Regions from separate parts of the Homo sapiens genome. Here region 2 is linked to region 1. The links are contacts of gene promoters, found by promoter capture Hi-C in blood cells and fetal thymus (Javierre and others, 2016). All regions are on one chromosome and are shown on one strand. Each heading gives the region's core, a stretch centred on a gene start or on the middle of the fragment in contact. The rest is flanking DNA. Distances are from core to core; before and after follow the strand shown.

The links. The method cuts DNA at HindIII sites, captures the fragments that hold promoters and counts their contacts. A CHiCAGO score of 5 or more calls a contact.
Region 2: the fragment with the promoter of BTN3A2 here is called in contact with the fragment with the promoter of H1-2 in region 1 in 1 of 17 cell types (neutrophils); the score reaches 10.0 in neutrophils.

The regions. Positions count from the first base shown.
Region 1 is chr6:26,053,858-26,057,935 of GRCh38, reverse strand. It overlaps H1-2 (H1.2 linker histone, cluster member), which reads left to right and starts at 1,466. Exons shown (of 1, transcript NM_005319.4): 1 at 1,466-2,196. The coding sequence starts at 1,508. The coding sequence ends at 2,149. RefSeq lists enhancers at 1,414-1,813, 1,904-1,953, 2,364-2,985, 3,606-4,078 and a silencer at 2,444-2,513. The HindIII fragment of the contact is 9,556 bases long and covers 1-4,078 here.
Region 2 is chr6:26,362,956-26,367,253 of GRCh38, reverse strand. It overlaps BTN3A2 (butyrophilin subfamily 3 member A2), which reads right to left and starts at 2,056. Exons shown (of 11, transcript NM_007047.5): 1 at 1,902-2,056. RefSeq lists an enhancer at 2,049-2,098. The HindIII fragment of the contact is 4,055 bases long and covers 1-3,837 here.

The DNA.
Region 1 (4,078 bases), core at 217-2,716:
TTGACTTTCCCACAATCTAAGGCTGTTCTCTTTAACACATATTTTCATGAAAACATATATTTGAGCAGAAATTGTTGGGGAGTTGTAATATTACCTTTGTCCCTAAATATGAATCTATAATTATATCAAATATATGGGCAGACAATTTACTTTGCCTTTAATCTCAAGAAAAAAATAGCAATTACTTGGGGTCGGAGAGTAAAATAAGAAGTAGTGAACCTTAAAGTAGCAAACTTTAGAACAGAATAGTTTCAGAGGGGATGAGAAGAGGTGATTTTTCAGCTCATCAACAACAGATCTTATAATAAATTACATGTTCTGGTACTTTTCTTGTCTTTCTGTGTTAAATTTTGCTATTTAAAAAAATAAATTTCAAATACATTGTTCATCTTAAAAGTCAAGAGTGTGTTTTATTAAAGTCAGTTGCTTTATTTGCAACTCAAAAGATATATTTGAGTTCCCAACTGGAGATTGTCCTATATGGTAACTTGCGTAAGGTATGGTTACTGAAAGTAACCTACAATTTTCATGGGCTGAAATTCATTTCTATATTGCAGCGTACAAAAATAAATAAATAAAAAATGCTTGTTTTCTTTGAAAACATATTATCTCAGTGCCTCTAACTGCCAAATCTATTGGCTTTTTTGCAGGCTTAAGGGCTCTCCCTTGTTCCTTTATGATCTCTATCTTGAGGGCCAGACCTCCTGCCTTACACAACTCAGAGGGGGACCTCAGAGCTCTTTAAAAAGAGCCCAATTTCTCGCCTGTAGAGAAGTGAAAAGGATGCCCCACCCCCATCTATGAAAAGAGGGATTTGATAGTTTCAATGTCTTCAAATCAAAGATTTAAGTCTGTAGCCCCCCACCACCCCGGACCCTAGCAAGGCTCATGAACCCCCTCCCATCCCGCCCTAATTGCTTTGGACTGGCCGTGGAATCCTTGTCCCAGTCCACAGTTCCTGTGCGACTGCACGAAGAATTCACAGAGGACCTGTGTTACTTCCCTTGTGAAGAAACAGAATTATCATGAAAATTTAGGTGGAAACCATTTCGCTTTTTTCTTCAAAAATAAGGGAAGCATGTGCCCAACCACCCCTGGGAAAAAGAACCTTCAGGGGCAAAGGAGCGAACAGGTAATTTATAAGAAAAACAGAAAGTGGTCTCTGACTGCCCCAGACTTCCTTCGGAGTTGGGGGAATTGGGGACGCCTGGACGCGTTGTTTTTGTGTTTGTGGAAAAAATAAATGAAGAGCATGAAGCCCGAGGCTTCTGAGATCCTTTCCTGACCAAACCCAAGTGATTTGGTGCGGGGAATTTTAATATTTTTCCCCTTTTGTGAGGTGGAACAAACACAACTTGGGAGCAGCGCAGCGGCTCAGAGCCTGCCAGCCAGGCGGGCGACCAGAGCACCAATCAGAGCGCGCCTGCGCTCTATATATACAGCGGCCCTGCCCAGGCGCTGCTTCATCGGCGCTTTGCCACTTGTACCCGAGTTTTTGATTCTCAACATGTCCGAGACTGCTCCTGCCGCTCCCGCTGCCGCGCCTCCTGCGGAGAAGGCCCCTGTAAAGAAGAAGGCGGCCAAAAAGGCTGGGGGTACGCCTCGTAAGGCGTCTGGTCCCCCGGTGTCAGAGCTCATCACCAAGGCTGTGGCCGCCTCTAAAGAGCGTAGCGGAGTTTCTCTGGCTGCTCTGAAAAAAGCGTTGGCTGCCGCCGGCTATGATGTGGAGAAAAACAACAGCCGTATCAAACTTGGTCTCAAGAGCCTGGTGAGCAAGGGCACTCTGGTGCAAACGAAAGGCACCGGTGCTTCTGGCTCCTTTAAACTCAACAAGAAGGCAGCCTCCGGGGAAGCCAAGCCCAAGGTTAAAAAGGCGGGCGGAACCAAACCTAAGAAGCCAGTTGGGGCAGCCAAGAAGCCCAAGAAGGCGGCTGGCGGCGCAACTCCGAAGAAGAGCGCTAAGAAAACACCGAAGAAAGCGAAGAAGCCGGCCGCGGCCACTGTAACCAAGAAAGTGGCTAAGAGCCCAAAGAAGGCCAAGGTTGCGAAGCCCAAGAAAGCTGCCAAAAGTGCTGCTAAGGCTGTGAAGCCCAAGGCCGCTAAGCCCAAGGTTGTCAAGCCTAAGAAGGCGGCGCCCAAGAAGAAATAGGCGAACGCCTACTTCTAAAACCCAAAAGGCTCTTTTCAGAGCCACCACTGATCTCAATAAAAGAGCTGGATAATTTCTTTACTATCTGCCTTTTCTTGTTCTGCCCTGTTACTTAAGGTTAGTCGTATGGGAGTTACTGAGGTATCAGACGAATTGGGTGACGGGGTTGGAGAGTGGCCGTGGTGAGGTTACAGCATTTAAACCTTTATTGCGGCTTCTAGGTCCCTGACCGGAGGCTTTTCTCGCTGGCGGATGGTTTTGGGATGGCAGTCCCGCCCCAGGCCTGTGAACGGCAGAAAAGACCGCAAAACAAGAGCCAGTTTCTTAGTCTAAAGGGATGTCCGGATTGGACTAAAAAATTTTCAAAAGTCCCGCCCTGCTCCCGGGTTGGTCCGTTCTTCTAGTACATGACTTTCATTCTGTATTTAATTGGATGGTGGAAGACGTTGCTTATTCTGTGTTTTTTGCTTTACTGTGACTTAAAAGTTTTGCCTCTTTTCTCTTTATATTAATGTCTGGGATTTCGGACGCTTTCCATGTTGTTGGTAGTCAAGTTGATGTCTCCTGGAGGTAGTGGCAACATCCAGCCCTGGGAGGAGAGTGCGTGCAGGTACCTTTGTCCTACATTCCTCTGCTGTTAATTTCTCATTCCTGTGGCAACGAAGGAATGCATTTAAAAAACAGCCACAACAGCGGCAATAGCCCTTCCTCCACCCAAGGCAATCGTGGACCTAGGGAGTTTTTTGTGCCACATAACATGTAGCCTTCCGCTAAACTGACAGGTTTGAGCGTATCGATTTTGAGCGTATCGAAAGCACAACTTTTAGCCAGCCATTTTGTCCTCGCATGACTACGGTTGCTTATCCTGTTTAGACAGACAGCAACATTTAAAAATCGAAGTTCCTTTAAACGTATTTTGTTTGGCAGTCCAAATGTTTCTATGCAGAAAACAGTATTTGTACTATTAACTATGAAGAGTGTATGGATAAATGGGAGACATTTCTAATAAAGGCCTTCGTTAATGGTTCCCTCTGTTTGACATCCATGGTGCTTCTGAATACAGAAAGCCTAGCGTCTTATATTCGCTTCTTTTAAAATCTGGTGGGCACATTTTGGTGAGACCTAAATTATGGGGACTGGGGCTTCTGGAGATAAGCTGCTCAATTATTCTACCATCTCCACAATGATTAATATAGTGAGTTGATTTGTTAGTGATAGTGACCACGGATTCATCCCAAGAAAGAGAAAGGGGAGGGAGGCAAGCAGAGAGACAGGAAGACAGAGGCAGGGAAGAAGGAGAAAACATTCTCCCATGGTTTAAGTAATTTTGTGTTGTTAATTTTACATTACAACACGGTTTAACATGGTGAACCCTCTATTTTGGTGTAAGGTTTAACATATGGACATATTTTTCCCAAGACCATTTATGAACTTTCATTTCTGCTTCCCCCTTCTTCCTCCCGTGCCACCCTCCACGCTCCTATCAATTTTGGCTGTTTTGTCATAGGCTAATACGCTATAATTTCATGGACAGTTGGACTGTCTTAGGTTTCTCAGGTTTCTATTTTGTTCCTTTAGTCATTCCCACAATTCTTAAGGTAGAATTGTATTGTTTTAAACATTGTGTTGTGTGCTATCCTCAATGCTGAGATGATTATGTGACAAATGGCAAGTGTTCAACTAATACCTAAATCTGTAGTATCTTATCAAGCCTAATGCTACTTCACAATGCCTACTCCATTCACCTCACTTTATCTCATTACTGGCATTCTGTCATCTCACATCATCACAAGTAAAACGGTAAGCTATTTTGAGAGAGATCACAGTCATATAATTTATATTTATATTTATTTATTTATTTATGAGACGGAGTTTCCCTCTGTCACCCAGGCTGGAGTGCTGTGGCACGTTCTCGGCTCACTGCAACCT
Region 2 (4,298 bases), core at 807-3,306, 310 kb before region 1:
CAAGAGACTGGTTAGAGGAATGATGGCTCATCCCTAGGAGGAAATTCAATGCAGCAGTTAAAAAGAGTGATTTAATGTCACTAGCCTGGATAATGGAGATATACTAAGTGATTAAAAAGCACCTTGCAGAACTATACTAATGATTCAATTGAAAAACAAAAGCAAAGCTATACATTTCTGCATAACTATATATGTAAATGCCTGAAAAAGTCTAAAATGATGGATGCTAAACTGAAAATTGGAGGTTAAGTGAGTGAAAGGACGCTTTGGCCTTTTGCTTCCTTTACTTTTAAAATTATTGGAATGCTTTAAGTTTAAAATTTTCATGTATTAGTTAATAACTAATTATTATGAGGAATAATAGTGACTGGAACATATTAGCTGCTCAGTAAATACTAACTCCTCAACAGTTTCTCCCAAAACAAAGGAGCATGAGGCCTGCAGCCATCATACCAGCTGCTGTGGGTCTGGGAATGGCCTCTGAGAACAAGGTCTGCAGATGGAGGTGGGGAGAGATGTAGAGGAAGCAAGGGAACAGAGGTCTGTGCAGCTGGTCATGCTCCACCCCTGCCTGGATCTTGCATCCACCATCAGACTAAACATTATATTTCACCACATCTTCTGCTCCTCGAAACTGCTCTTTATTCTCCTAAGGAGAAGGAGGTATTATTAAGCTAAGCTAAAAATTTCTCTGCTGTCCTCAGAGGGAGAACTTTTATTTTTTAGGTTATTTATTATTCATTCTTTCTACTATAGACAATTTTGCCAAAGAAAAAAATATAAAGGAATAAAACCTTAAATACTCTGTAGTTATATACTTTGCTAATGGAAGTGGAAATGTTTCTGGAAGCATTTGGCCATGTACACATGGCAAGTGCCTTTAAAATGTTGTATTATTTGCCCCCAAAATTCCAACTATAAAAGTTAGTGTTGAAGAAAAAAATTTAGAGATTGATGCAAATATTTATGGATAAGGCTGTTCAATCTAGTAAAATCTACAGTAACAAAATGTAGAAACTGAAAAATCCAAAATAAAGAGTTTTAAAAATAATTCGGGTTTTTTATTTGTTTGTTTGTTCTTTTTTCTTCTTTAGGAGCGGCTTTCTGAGTCAGAGTAGGCTCACAGAGACTCCCAATAATTATATATTCATACAATGTAGTAGCTTGTAACCATGGGAAATCATGCTTTAGGTTTTGGGGAAATGATGAATGGAAAGAAAACCAAGTACTATCCCTAAAAGATACCAAAAATGGTTTAATATAAGGATCCAGTGTTATTAAAATTATAAAGAATTTCACTTAATTAAAATTATGATTCCTAATGGTTACATGGAACATGTTTTATGACTGAACCATGCATTGTTTGTCTATTCCCCACCTGTTGAATATGTATGTTGGTTCAGATTTTACTATATTATAAATACTTCTGTAATAAACACATTTACATATAAATCTATGAGGCACATCTCTTTTTTCTTCTTCTTCTTCAGAATTTCTCAGAATAGATGCCTTGAGTTGGCCAGAACAGATTTTAAGGGTTTTTTGTTTGTTTGTTTGTTTGCCCTTTTCTGACCACAATACGTTAAGAACATGCAGTTGGAATATTTCTTCATTCATGTTGTCTCCCTTTCCTTCCACTAAATCCCAACCTCTGCAGTTCCTTATACTTTGCAGTACTTCTCCCGTCTTCCCACGTGCCCATATGTGCATGTGCGAGTGTGCACATGTACACATGTACACACACACACACACACACACACACACACACACACACACACAGGCACTGCACCCCTTTCTCTGGGAGAGTACTCTCCCTGCATGCCCACTCACCACTCTCAGCGATTCAGCCCCGCTCCTCCCATGCGTTGTAGCCCAGGCTCTAATCAATTTCCTGCACTTACCCCTTGGTATTCCCATTGGAGAATCAGAGCCCACAGAATAAAGACGGTCAATCAATAATTCTCCATTCTTTCTATTATGGCTTAGCCTCTCATCCGGAAGAAAGGAAAAAGAGAAAGCAAATATTGTCTTCTCACCATGAGAAACAGTAAGAGTCGCTCTTTGGAAGAATTAGTTTTTTGATTGGCTCAGAGGTGATGTTTCTCATCAGTTGCTGGGCAGAAACCACTGAGGAACGTTGAAATGAAAACTGAAAGTACATTGAATTGTACACGTTGAGGAAAAACTCCAGCCCTACCTCCCTTAGTGTTTGTGTTTCTGTGTTTATCTATTTGAATCATTCTTGTGCGTGGATGTATATAAGTATTTCTTTATATTCACCTGTCTCGTGTCTTTTACATGGTAATAGAAATATTAGCAGAATGGAGTAGGAAAGTAAAAAAATTTAATGTGCAAAGAGAGGAAGATGTGCACTAATTAAGATGCTTCTGTGGCAGTTTGCTTGCATGTAGATAGGTACGTAGAAGAGGAGGATCTTTTTTACAGAGCCTAATAAAGGTATGAATGGAAAGAAAATGAGACAAACTGCACCTCTTTAAGAACTTCTGGCATTTAGGCTTAGGATATGGTATCAAATAATATAATTTTTCTGATTTCCAGAGGCAGTGCTGCTTGACATTGTTTTACCTTTCCCAGGAAATTCTTACTGCAGATCTTTCTGAGCATCTTCATTCACCCTCAGCTCCTGGTTTGTGCTATATTGTATTTTCTTGGGTATTTGTTTCTCACGCTGCCAGTGGAGTACATATTCTCTGAAGCTAGACACTCCATAGGCTGTGGTCTCTGTAAGGCTCGTTTCCTGTACACCATCTCTGTAAGGAGTTTATGGGACAATCTTGTTCTCCCTGTGGCTTACGACCTCAAAACACACTTTTTTGGGCTGCAAGCCAGAAATCTCCTAGAGCTAATATGTGACTGGAGCTGATGGGATTTGATTATATTGCAACAGTTTGAATTTAGGCTGTGTGGTATCTGCTTGAGATGGCTGGTTGCTTCTGCAGCGTGCATGCCCCCTTCTTCTTAGTGACAAGGCCTAATTTTCTGGGGTACTGCATCCTGCTCTTCCCCCTTGAAGATAGGGCAGGCCAAGGGACTAAGTTGGAGCCAGCGGTTTGTAGGTGAAAGTTGTGGGCTTGTACTTCTCCCAGAAATCCTTCAAAGGGAGGCCAAAATAGCTGGGAGTGTGAGGGTACACTCTCCCTTCTTCCTTCTTCCTCTTGCCTAGAACATGGACTTTGGACCCGGAGGTGCAGTAGCCCACCCTGGGACCATGAGGCAGCCTTGAGGTTGGAAGCCACACACTGGGACAGCAGAGAATGAAGTCAGAAGCAGGCTGGGGCATGAATGACATATCTGAGGTGCCAGATCAGCCCTGGACTGTCACCATCTAAATTTATTTAAAAAATTTTTTCTTTTAAAATATTTTATTATATATTAGTACTCAGGGTAAATTTCCAAATAAGTTTGTTTTTCATGAAAGGAAAACAAATCCTTGTTTTATTTAAGCCAGTGGTACTTCTGGTCTCTGTTATCAACAGAAAAACACAATTTTTCCCTCCCCCTTCCCCCTCCCCAACAGTTTATTATAAAACTTCTAAAACATATAGCAAAGGTGAAAGAATTTCAGTAAATTCCAATATATCTACCATGTAGATTGTATAATTAATATTTTAGTTTCTTACTTTATTATAAATCCATCCTGCTGTTCACCCCTATTCATCCATCAATATTTGTTTATTTGTTCATTTGTTTATTTTTAAATTCAGACTCTATCAGAAGCTGTGCTGCTTGAGATCGTATTAGTAAGAATGAACATCCCACCTTTGCCTGGAGGGTCCAAGTCACTTTGACACAAAGAAGCAGCCAATGTGCTAAGCTTCAGATTAGGAGTTTCTGAGCCCAACTCTTCATATCTCTGAACTTTGTAGTTTCCAAACTATGAGACCCCTAAGTTCATTTCTCACTCAATGTCTTTGTTTCTTCAGCTATGGGTAGGGATGTGACCTGCTTCTTAAGTTGTTTGGGGAGAACCTAGCACAGCACCTGCACATATTAACTCTTTATGAATGTCATTATTTTCCATTATGAAAGGTTCGGTATCAGCTGGTGCCTGTTGTGGAGTTGGAGTTTTAGTTTGAAGGTGAAGAGAAAATCTTTTTTAAAAATGGCATGAGAAAATGTGTACATTGGAAACAATAGTGTGAAAGGTGCCAGGGAAGATGGGAAGTAAGAGTGCCATTTACATTGTATTCTGTGGAATGATGACGCTATGATTACACAATATAGCCAGTCCTCATTAGAGAATCAGATGGTAGAAGACAAGGAGACCAGGAAGAAAG